Linked DNA regions of Homo sapiens: region 1 is linked to region 2. The links are contacts of gene promoters, found by promoter capture Hi-C in human tissues and cell types (Jung and others, 2019). All regions are on one chromosome and are shown on one strand. The core of a region is centred on a gene start or on the middle of the fragment in contact, and the rest is flanking DNA. Distances in the headings are between cores, read along the strand shown.

Region 1 (5,385 bases), core at 2,317-4,816, 290 kb after region 2:
TTCCCATTGCCCTCCAAATGTATATTATAAACAGGGCCCAAGCCTGGCGCAGTGGCTCATGCCTGTAATCCCAATACTTTGCAGGAGGCCAAGGTGGGTCGATTGCTGGAGCCCAGGAGTTTGAGACCAGCCTGGGAAACATGGTGAAACCCTGTCTCTACAAAAAATACAAAAATTAACTGGGCATGGTGGTGGTGCGTAATCTCAGCTACTTAGGAGGCTGAGGTGGGAGAATGACCTGAGCCCAGGAAGTCAAGGCTGTGCTGAGCCATGATCACACCAGGGCTCTCCAGCCTGGGTGACAGAGTGAGACTCTGTCTCAAAAATAAATAAGTAAATAAATAGCCCAGATAAGAAGCCCTATAATAAACTTACTGAATGTTGGGAATATCACTGGATAAAATTCTGCCTTTGTTCTTAGTTTTCCAGCCTTTCCTGATCTAGAAACAGAAGCCTACTTTCTCCCTTATCCTACAGCCAACTTGGACTTTAAAACAAAACCCCCGAGGTAGTCAGCAAAGGAAGGTGACCAAGCTGACTTGCTTTTCCATATTGTTCTGAAAGTTTCAGCCAAAGCAATAAGAAAAGACAAGAAAATATGATGGATAAGTAACAGGAGATATATGTTGTTTGCAAGTGGTGATATGATTGTCAGAGTAGAAAATATATTAGAACCGTAAGGTGGTGGAGTAGGTGTCCACATATAAAATATAGTGGGATTTGTCTATGCCGGCATGAACTAGCCAGGAAGTAGGATGGATAAAGAAGAAAAGAGATCTGGGATTGTGGATGAATAAGGAACCTTATAGAAACACACCCTGTCGACCTTGGATGTCCTCTAAATTTGGGTCAGGAGTCATGCAAGATATGTGTCATTTCATGACCAGCAGCTGTCCCACAGTCTGATGTCTAAGACTGGATGGCTCTGTGGTTAGAGCCACTTACAGGCTGGTGTTGGGATCAAATGATGAGAAGAGTAGGAAGAAGGGCCAGGTGCAGTGGCTCATGCCTGTAATGCCAGCACTTTGGGAGGTGGAGCCAGGCAGATCCCTTGAGTCTAGGAATTTAAGACCAGCCTGGGCAACACAGTGAAACCTCGTCTCTACAAAAAATCAAAAATTAGCTGAGCATGGTGGTATGCACCTGTGGTTCCAGCTACTCGGGAGACTGAGGCAGGGGAACTACTTGAGCCCGGGAGGGTCAAGGCTGCAGTGAGCTGTGATTGCGCCACTGCACTCATCTTAGGCAACACCTTCTCACACTTCCCCTTAGAAACTCCGGGATTCTAGTGACATCTGGAAGTAACCTGCGCTTTAGTAAGTCGGCTGAGATGAGGGCCTAGAAGCCTCAATTGAACCAGATACATTTACTTGTTCCGTGTGCCCAGGCCGTTTCCCTTGCGCAGCTCTGTGTGTGCAGGGGGCTTCTCTCTGCCTCTACCTGTGGCTGCTCACTTGGTCCCCAGGGAGAGAACGGCCACATTCGCCTCTTCCCCTTCTTCCCCCCCGGCATCTTGTCCACGTGAACCCTGTCTGTTCTTTGGTTTCAGTGCCCAGCAGAGGAGCACGCAGCTGAACAAGAAGAGAGCCATCCCCAATCAGGTAGCACACCCCTCTGCAGTCTCCCGCTCTACCCTGGGGGCGGGAGGACGCTAAGTGACAGCTAAGCCCCCGTGATGGAGCTCGGCCTGTGTAAAGCCCCACCCCACAGCCTCAGTACCAGGCCATCTGCTCTCTCTAGAGGCCACTTAGGAATTGATAATTCTGGGAGATGGCCTGAGAGCCAACACTCTGGCAGGGCCTAGTGGGCACATTTTACCCACCCAGAAGGCCCTATGTGCCATCCAAGGCCAGGGTTAGAACTTGACTCTTGGCTGGGCACAGTAGCTCACACCTGTAATCCCAGCATTTTGGGAGGCCGAGGTGGGAGGATCACTTGAGGCTAAGAGTTTGAGACCAGCCTGGGCAACATAGAAAGACTCTGTCTCTACAAATAATAATATTTAAAAATTACCTGGGAGTGGTGGGCTCATGCCTATCACCCCAGCTACTTAGGAGGCCAAGGTGGGAGGGTCACTTGAGCCCAGCAGTTCATGACCATCCGGGGCAATACAATGAGACCTCATCTTAAAAATTAATAATAGGCTGGGCACGATAGCTCACACCTGTAATTCTAGCATGTTAGGAGGCTGAGGCGGGCGGATTGCCTGAGCTCAGGAGTTTGAGACCAGCCTGGCTAACATGGCAAAAACCCCATCTCTACTAAAAATACAAAAAATTAACCAGGCGTGGTGGCACGCGCCTGTAATCCCAGCTACTCAGGAGGCTGAGGCAGGAGGATTGCTTGAACCTTGGAGGCGGAGGTTGCAGTGAGCCAAGATTGCGCCACCGCACTCCAGTGTGGGTGACAGGGCCAGACTCTGTCTCCAAAAATAATAATAATAAAGATATAAATAAGAATTTTTCCCTTGAGCGGGGGTCTGTGACCTCTTTGAGCTTTCCAACACAGCCCCAGGGATTGGGAGCCCCTAGGTGAGAGCCGCTGGAAACTACATTGTCACTAGCAGCTCAGGGGAGCTTGGGATAGTTGAAGCCCCACACCTGGAGAAGCCCTGAGCCACAAAGGGTTGTACCTTGACATCTTAACCCAGCTAGAGGCCTTGTGAAATATGAACGGCTGTATCAATGCCTGCCTTCAGTACCTTATTATTATTATTATTATTTTGACACAGAGTCTCGCATTGTCACCTGGGCTGCAGTGCAGTGGCGCAATCTTGGCTCACTGCAACCTCTGCCTCCCAGGTTCAAGCGATTCTCCTGGTTCAGCCTCCTCAGTAGCTGGGATTACAGGTGCTCACCACAACACCAGGCTAATTTTTTTTTATTTTTTTCTTGAGATGGAGCCTTGCTCTGTGTCCCAGCTGGAGTGCAGTGGCACGATTTCAGCTCACTGCAACCTCCACCTCCCGGGTTCAAGCAATTCTCTGCCTCAGCCTCCTGAGTAGCTGGGATTACAGGCGCCCGCCAGCACGCCCAGCTAATTTTTTTGTATTTTTAGTAGAGAGGGGGTTTCACCATCTTGGCCAGGCTGGTCTCAAACTCCTGACCTGGTGATCCACCCGCCTCGGCCTCCCAAAGTGCTGGAATTACAAGCGTGAGCCATCACGTCCAGCCTTTTTTTTTTTTTTTTTTTTTTTTTTTGAGACAGAGTCTCACTCTGCCACCAAGGCTGGAGTGCAGTGGCGCGGTCTCAGCTCACCACAACCTCCGCCTCCTAGCTTCGTGTGATTCTCCTGCCTCAGCCTTCTGAGTAGCGACGATTACAGGAGCCTGCCACCACCCCTGACTAATTTCTGTATTTTTAGTAGAGACAGGGTTTCACCATGTTGGCCAGGCTGGTCTCGAACTCCTGACCCCAGGTGATCCACCCGCCTCGCCCGGACAAAGTGCTGGGATTATCATGCCAGCCTTTATCATTAATTTTTAAGAAAACCTGGACGGGCACGGTGGCTCACACCTGTAGTCCTAGCACTTTGGGAGGCCGAGGCGGGCGGATCACCTGAGGTCAAGAGTTAGAGAACAGCCTGGCCAACATGGTGAAACCCCGTCTCTACTAAAATACAAAAAATTAGCCTGGCATGATGGTGGGTGCCTATAATTCCACCTACTCGGGAGGTTGAGACAGGAGAATCACTTGAACCCAGGAGATGGTGGTTGTGGTGAGCCAGGATCACACCACTGCACTCTGGCCTGGGCGGCTGAGCGAGACTCCATATCAGGAAAAAAAAAAAGAAAGAAAGAAAAGGAAACCATAATCTTCGCAAAATTTCTGCCTATGTCCCTCCCTTCTCCCCATTGGGCAGGGGTGGGGGCGGGGACTCCACCATGTACCTTGCACGATCATAGAGCCTACTGGAAGGAAGAACGTAACCATTGCATGATTTATTTTTGCGCTTGCCGTAGGTAATACATATGTTGTTGCTTTTTTGTTTCTTGAGATAATAATGAATTAAATATTAACACCATGAATATGATTAATAGCATGTAATTTTTTTTCTTTTGCTGTTTTTTCCCCTGCTCTTCTCTTCTCCTGTTTTTGTGCTTTTCCTGCTTTTTCTTTGTCCCCTTCACGTCCCTTCCATCTCTTTTCCTTTGCCTGCTCTTCCCTGATTTACCCACAACCCTAACTTTGCATATTCAAAGGGGGAGATCCTGGTAAGTACATGCTTAGTGTGGTAGCAAACATTAGAGAATCTAGTGGTGATGGAGACCCCGCCCACCCCTAATATTCCCTGTTCCCCATCCCCTCCAAATAACAAAAATACTAAAAATCGAGCTAACCTGGAAACCCCATGCCGCAGCCGGCGCTGGACTGCACGTTGCCCTGGGTATAAGTCGACTCACACAGGCACTAACTGGACCGCCACCCTTGAAGGCGCACTTCTGCAGCCAGTTCCTGGCAGGTTTTCCTGGTTTCCTGTAGGTCAGGGATGGCAAATACTTACACACCGCCCCTGCCTCCCCTCACATCCCTGGCTGTGGAAGATCTCGCTTAAGCCAGACCAGAATTCATTCTTGGCACTGCCCCTCCTCCTTCTATCTCCTATGCAGATGTCACTCATGGATCAGAGCATATTTTTCCACATGGCAGAAATCTTGCCCTCTTGTGCCCATGGCAGACATGGCTAGTTGATCTAGCACTCTTTGCCTTGTGCCGCTCCTCTAGCACACGCCCATGGCAGACATTGCTAAGCAATCCTAGCATTCTTTCCAAATAAGCTTGCCAGCACTCCTGTTCTATAGCAGATGTGGCTAAGTGATTAAGGTATTGTTTTTCTCCCTATATGATACCCTCTTCTCTATGCATGGCAGGCATGACTAGTCAATCAGGAGCCTCTTTCCTAGATGCTGCCTCTTGTCCTCCAGATAAATTGATGAGGCTCTTCTGTTCCACTTACCCTTTCTCCTATCCTTGGCCTGTGACAGGCAACACTAATTGATCCTAGCACCGTTTCCTGCCACGCCCAGAATTCTCACCACAGTGCTTCAGGTATCTTGTACCAGTCGATTGACATGGCTCCCGAGATGAATCATATTTGCTGTCCATCCCTGCTGTGGGTAACACCTCCTTCCTTTGTGCAGAACCCTCAGCTGGGGCCCAGTGTGGGGCGTGAGATGGGCGTGAGGCCCAGTCCAGCCCAGCCCAGCGGGAAGCAGCCTGCTACTCATAGCTGAGAACTGAACCCAGCTCAAGGAGCTCACCTCTAGGCAGCCGGCCTCAGCCCGGCTCTTACACTTGGACAGCACAGCCTGGGCCTCCAGTCCTAGCAGGGGCTCCCTTTTGCTGGACATTCTCCCACTGCCAGCCACCAAGGCGCTGGTCATC
Region 2 (5,698 bases), core at 2,238-4,737:
CAGCGGCGCAGGCCCCCGGAAGCCTCAGCCGCGCTCGCCGACTGCTGGGAGCCACTCGGGTCTCTGCCGCAGGAGTGGCGTCCGCAGCAGACCAGGCGCAGGAGCGCGTGGCGCAGGTCGCGGTTGGTGAGCGTGTAGATGATGGGGTTCAGAAGTGAGTTGGCCATGGCCAGTCCCAGGAAGGGATCGGCCTGCAGGAGTACAGGACAGGTGCGCGCCGGGCACGCCACGTCGAGCAACAGCAGCAGGAAGAGGGGGCCCCAACATGCCACAAAGGCCAGGAGCACCACGCTGAGCGTGCGCAGCAAGGCCAGCGAGCGCGGCTTGCGACGCGCCCGGGTCGAGGTGGTCCCCGCAGTCCCGGGCCGTGCCGGCAGGCGCCGCGCGTTGGCGCGTACCTGGCAGTAGATGCGCGCGTAGAGTGCACAGATAGCGGCCAGGATGCCCACGAAGGCGAGCACGCAGAAGAGCACGTAGGCCTTGGCGTAGAGCGGCAAGACAGTGGAGCAAGCGTCCAGGCGACCCAGGCAATTCCAGCCCAGCGCTGGCAGGAGCCCGAGGAGCAGCGACACGCCCCAGGCCGCGGCTGCCATCGCCAGCGTGCGCCCCCGACTGGAGACGGGCGCGGGCCCCCTGCGCGCCATGGTGAGGCTGCGCTCCAGCGCGATGGCCAGGAGGCTCAGCACGGACGCAGTGAGTGCCACGAAGACGCCTCCCTCCCGTGCGAACCAGAGCGCGGGGGACAGTTTCAGCGTGAGCGGCCCCGACAGTAGGATGTTGGCGGCGTAGGCGGCGCCTGCCAGCAGATCCGACAACGTGAGGCTGCCCAGGAGCAGGAACATGGGAGCGTGGAAGCGCGGGTGGCGTCCGAGCACCAACAACACGGCTAGATTCTCTAGCACGATGAAGGCGCACACCGCCAGGCACACCACGGCGTCGGCGCGCAGGCCGGCACCCGGCTGGTAGCGCGCACCGCGGAGCTTGCCGGTGTAGTTGTAATGCAGGACGATGACCTCGCTCACCGGCGCCGGCCGCAGCAGCCCCGACTCCATGGGCCGCGCGCCCCAAGGCTGTTGGAGAGGCAAGATACGGTGTCAGGCCGCGGTCCCCGTAAGCACGCTCGCAGCAGCCGGCTAAGTCGTGGGAAAGGGGCCCTACCCACTGACCATCACCCCCTATACATGGTGTCCAAGGGGGAGTTCAGGATGGAGGGATAGAGTCCGTGGAGACAGACATACACACAAATAATATCACGAGGGAACAAGGTGACATAGTCCCAAAAAAAGGGACATTAATAACACATGAATGGCTGGGCGCGGTGGTTCACACATGGCTGGGCGCGGTGGCTCAGGCCTGTAATCCCCGCCTGTAATCCCCCCAGGCTCAGGCCTGAGGCAGTGGCTCAGGCCTGGGAGGCCAAGGGGGGCAGATCACGAGGTCAGGAGATCGAGACCATCCTGGCTAACACGGTGAACCCCTCCGTCTCTGCTAAAAACACAAAAAATTAGCCAGGCATGGTGGCACGTGCCTGTAGTCCCAGCTACTCCAGAGGCTGAGGCAGAAGAATCATTTGAACCCAGGAGGCGGAGGTTGCAGTGAGCCGAGATCGCATCACTGCACTCCAACCTAGGTGGCAGAGCGAGACTCTGTCTCAAAACACCCCCCCTCCCCACCAAACACACACACGGCTGGGTGTGGTGGCTCACTCCTGTAATTCCAGCACTTTGGGAGGCTGAGGCGGGAGGATTGTTTGAGGCCCAGGAGTTCGAGATTAGCCTGGACAACATAGGAGAACCCCGTTTCTACAAAAATTAGCCGGGACGTGTTGGTGTATGCCTATAGTCCAAGCTACTCAGTGGAGTCCCAGCTGAGGTGAGAGGATCACTTGAGCCCGCGGGGTCAAGGCTGCAGTCAGTGAGCATTGATTGTGCCACTGTACTCCAGCCAGGACAACAGAGCAAGACTTTGTCTCAAACACACACACACAAACACACAAGCAGGGAGTTCCAGAGACGTAACAGTAAACACACAGAACGCACACAAACGCAACACACACAGAAAGAGACACACAAATACAGCGACACACTACAAGGGCAAAACACACAGTCACACACTATCAGGGAAACTAAAAAATACATCATACAGGAACAGAGTGACGCAGGCAGAAAAACACAGCGACCAAAATTCAGTCACACGAATACAGGGTCTCCCACCCAGTGGCACAGGCCACAATTTCACAACCTCCACTCACACTAGCCTGGGGCCCAGTGCACCACACTCCACACTCTTGTCTCACTGCATACAAAGCTTTTTCCTGCCAAAACCCCCTCATCCACCCAAAACCCCATGAGAAAGTTGCTCCTTGGCCAGGCACAGTGGCTTTCGCCTGTAATCCCAGCACTTTGGGAGGCCGAGGTGGGAGTATCACTTGAGCCCAGGAGTTCGACACCAGCTTGGGCAACATACTAAGACTTCATCTCTACAAAAAAATTTAAAAATTAGCCAGGTGTGGTGTTATGCCCCTATAGTCCCAGCTACTCAAGAGACTGAGGCGGGAGGATCACTTGAGCCTGGGAGGCCGAGGCTGCAGTGAGCCATGATCGCACCCCTGCTCTCCAGCCTGGGTGACAAGAGAGAAACTCCGTCTCAAAAAAAAAAAAAAAAAAAAAAGTTGATCCTATTCACTCATTTTACTAAGGCAGAGCCTGAGGACAGGAGAGAGAATCCACAAGAGGCAAACAGACTCTTACAGAGGGGCACACATGTCATTAAACTGTAATAACACTCCTCACCTGCCTCTGTGACCTTATTAATCCCCACTTCCTTTAGTCCTAATTTACAGATGAGAAAACTGAAGCTCAAAAGAAATGCTTCGTATCGAAGCAGGCGCAAAGGTTTCCATGCTCCCACACAAACATCCATGCACAAATAGTCCCCATGCAAGTCCAGATGAGAAAGCCAAGGCCTGGGGAGGGGAATGGATCTCTTTTGCACAAGGCAGGGATGCGGACATCCCAGAGAGCTTCAGTCACACACAGAGAATCAAGGCAGGCAAACATAGACAGGAAGTCGCTGGCTCACCCATGCTGGAGGTGGGGAGCCCAAATACAGGGAGACAGGGTTACACATGCTCTGAGGGGGAGGCCAACCCCATCCGCCCAGCTTGCCCGGCAGCAGGACTGAAGTATGGAAACTTGCAGTGGCCCGGCCAGGAGGGGGTGGCCAGGGGATTCCAGCCACCTTCACCCCGTATCCCAGGTCCTGCACCCAGCTGGGGAGCCCCCAGCTTCCCCCTCCCCAGAGGCCTCCAGGAAAAGTTCGGAGAACTCCCTGCAAGGAGTGGTGCGCCTTTTTAGACCGGGAAAGTGGCCGCCAGGGCGACCCCCTCCGGGTCAGGCCCAGCCCAGCGCCCCCAAAGGTCCAGTGCAGTCCACTCACTCTGCGCCCTGGTCGTGCGCCACCCGCAGTCGCGCTGCCTTGAACCGAGTGAGCGGACGCCGCTCCGGGGGCGGGGCTGGAGCTGGCAGGCGAGGGGGCGGGCCAGCGACGCAAAGGGCCGGCGGTCGCCAGCAGTTGCCCCCTCCCCTTGGGTCCCGGGCACTCAGCCCATGGCTGCCAGCCTGTGCCACTCGCCGCGGCACCGGAGCGCGCCCCGGCGGCGACTGGCACAGGCGAGCCCTCAGCTGCCCCCTCCGGGCCTGGGCTGTCCTCCCAGGGACGCTCCATCGCGGTGGGAGGACTCGGAGAGGCGGGAAAGGGAGGGTTCTGCAGCAGGGCGGTCGCAGCCTGAGCCTCTTCTCCCCAGCGGAGGGGTCTCCTCTGTCCTGGGTGTCCGGGCACTGCGCCCTCCCATTGCCCACCCACCTGTGAACTGAGCTTCCTGGGCTGCACCCCAAGGACGCCCCGTCGATGATTCGGAGGGGTCTTCAGTGGGTTGCTTAGCAGGAGTCTTCAGTGGGGGCCACCTTAGCCTGAGTCCTCTCCCACCAGCAGATAGGTTCCCGCTGCTCCCGGGCACAGGCCCCTCCCAATTTCCCGCTCCCGCCCCCGGCTCAGGGCGAGTGGGGGTGGGGCGGGCCCGGGCAGGATTGTGATGGGAACTTGCCGCTCCTCAGATAAGGAGGGTCTCTCCTGTCCCACCCCCTGGATTCCGTGTTCCCCCGACCGATTCTCTCCCACCCTTATCGCTGACGACAAAGTGATTTACTCATTAATGGTGTTTCTGGGCTGTGTCCTTAGCAGACAGTAAACCCCAGCAATGTAAGAATTTCTTTTTTTTTTTTTTTTTTGAGACAAGATCTTGCTCTGTGGCCCAGAGTGGAGTGCAGTGGCAACATCATAAGTCACTGCAGTCTCGACCTCCGCGGCTCAAGCCATCCTCCCATCTCAGCCGGCTGAACGTAGCTGCTGGGACTCCAGTCGCTTGCAACCATGCCCAGATAATGAATGAGTGTCTCCCTCACTTCCTCTGTATCTCTCTCAGGAGGATCTCAGAGTCTCTCGCCTGCGTGTCTCTTTGTCTCTGCGTGTCTCTTTGCCTCTGCGTGTCTCTTTGTTGCTGTCTGTGATGCTCTCCCACGCCTCTCCCAGGCCACTGCTCCTCCAACGACCAGTCCCGCTGGCCCCGAAACGCCCCCACCCCGACTTCCCAGGAACTTCCAGACGGTCCCAGCTCTTCCACCCTCAGATTCAGGAAGGGAGGCTGGGTCCCGCTGCTGCGACCTTCTCCAGGACCGTGCCCTTTGCCCCTGATGCTTCAGGCCCTGCTGGCCGCGGGTGGGGTGAGGGCGCCCCAGGAGAGATGAGCCAGAGGCTGAGAATAAGTGTGGATCCGGGATACCCTCGTGGGAGGAAACTCAGGGGGCACTCAGGCCGGGTCAGGCCCCCATGTAGCCCCTTGGGGATCCCAGCCCTCCTGCCCCCGCTGTTCCCTCGGTGGGCAGAACCTTTCCTGCCTGCTCTGCTCAAAGACACAGCCAATGGGACCCGCAGGGTGGGACGGTGTTAACCCTTCAGTGCCAGGTTCCCCAGTCCTGTGGACCAAGCCAACTCCAATGGTGCCCACTGGGATGACCCCTGAAGATCTCCCAGCATGGCTGTGGCTGGCACCCAGTAGGTGCTCAATAAATGACCTCCTTCTGTAAAGGGGAAGCCGCGCCCCAGGGTGGGGAGGTGGCTGCTTCACACCTCCCAGGCGCCAATCTCACTTCTCTCGAAAATGGGGCTCTTCCGGCTGCGGGTCCCGGGCTCAGCAACCTGCCTCTCCAGCTGCCTCCCTGAACTTCTTTCCCACGAATTGGGACCCTGGGGACTCAGGCTCCAGGATCTCGACAGATGTTGGGAGTCCCATCCCTAGCTGCCACTCCACACTCCTGGCCACAGTTCTTAAAACTCAGATCACATTTCTTTTCTGCTCCAAACCCTCCCGTGGCTCCCTGTGTTTCTCAGAGTAAGTGATCAAGTCCTCAGTGAGGACCCCGCAAGGACAAGGCCATATGCCGTCCTGATTTGTCTCTTTCTGTTACTTCTGTGCCTCTCTCTGCTCCACTCTGCTTCTGCCTCCCGGGCTCCTCCGAGTTCCACACACACTTCAAGACTTTTGAACTTGGGGGCCAGGTGGCCTGGAGCACCCTTCTCCCCACCCCTTCCCAGCTGGTCAGCTGGTCACCTCCTCAGAGAGACCTTCCCTGATCTGTCC

The links. The method cuts DNA at HindIII sites, captures the fragments that hold promoters and counts their contacts. A contact is called where the count stands out against the background at its distance.
Region 1: a contact is called between a fragment that was not itself captured here and the fragment with the promoter of S1PR5 in region 2, in 1 of the 25 tissues and cell types used here (thymus).

The regions. Positions count from the first base shown.
Region 1 is chr19:10,804,367-10,809,751 of GRCh38, forward strand. DNM2 (dynamin 2) reads left to right here. Exons shown (of 21, transcript NM_001005361.3): 13 at 1,550-1,601; 14 at 4,203-4,214. Among named protein-coding and RNA genes, the nearest start is that of MIR199A1, 10 kb to the right of the region's middle. The HindIII fragment of the contact is 9,704 bases long and covers 1-5,385 here.
Region 2 is chr19:10,513,960-10,519,657 of GRCh38, forward strand. It overlaps S1PR5 (sphingosine-1-phosphate receptor 5), which reads right to left and starts at 3,488. Exons shown (of 2, transcript NM_030760.5): 1 at 3,439-3,488; 2 at 1-1,070. The coding sequence starts at 1,052. RefSeq lists enhancers at 778-1,371, 1,372-1,965, 4,833-5,395. The HindIII fragment of the contact is 14,604 bases long and covers 805-5,698 here.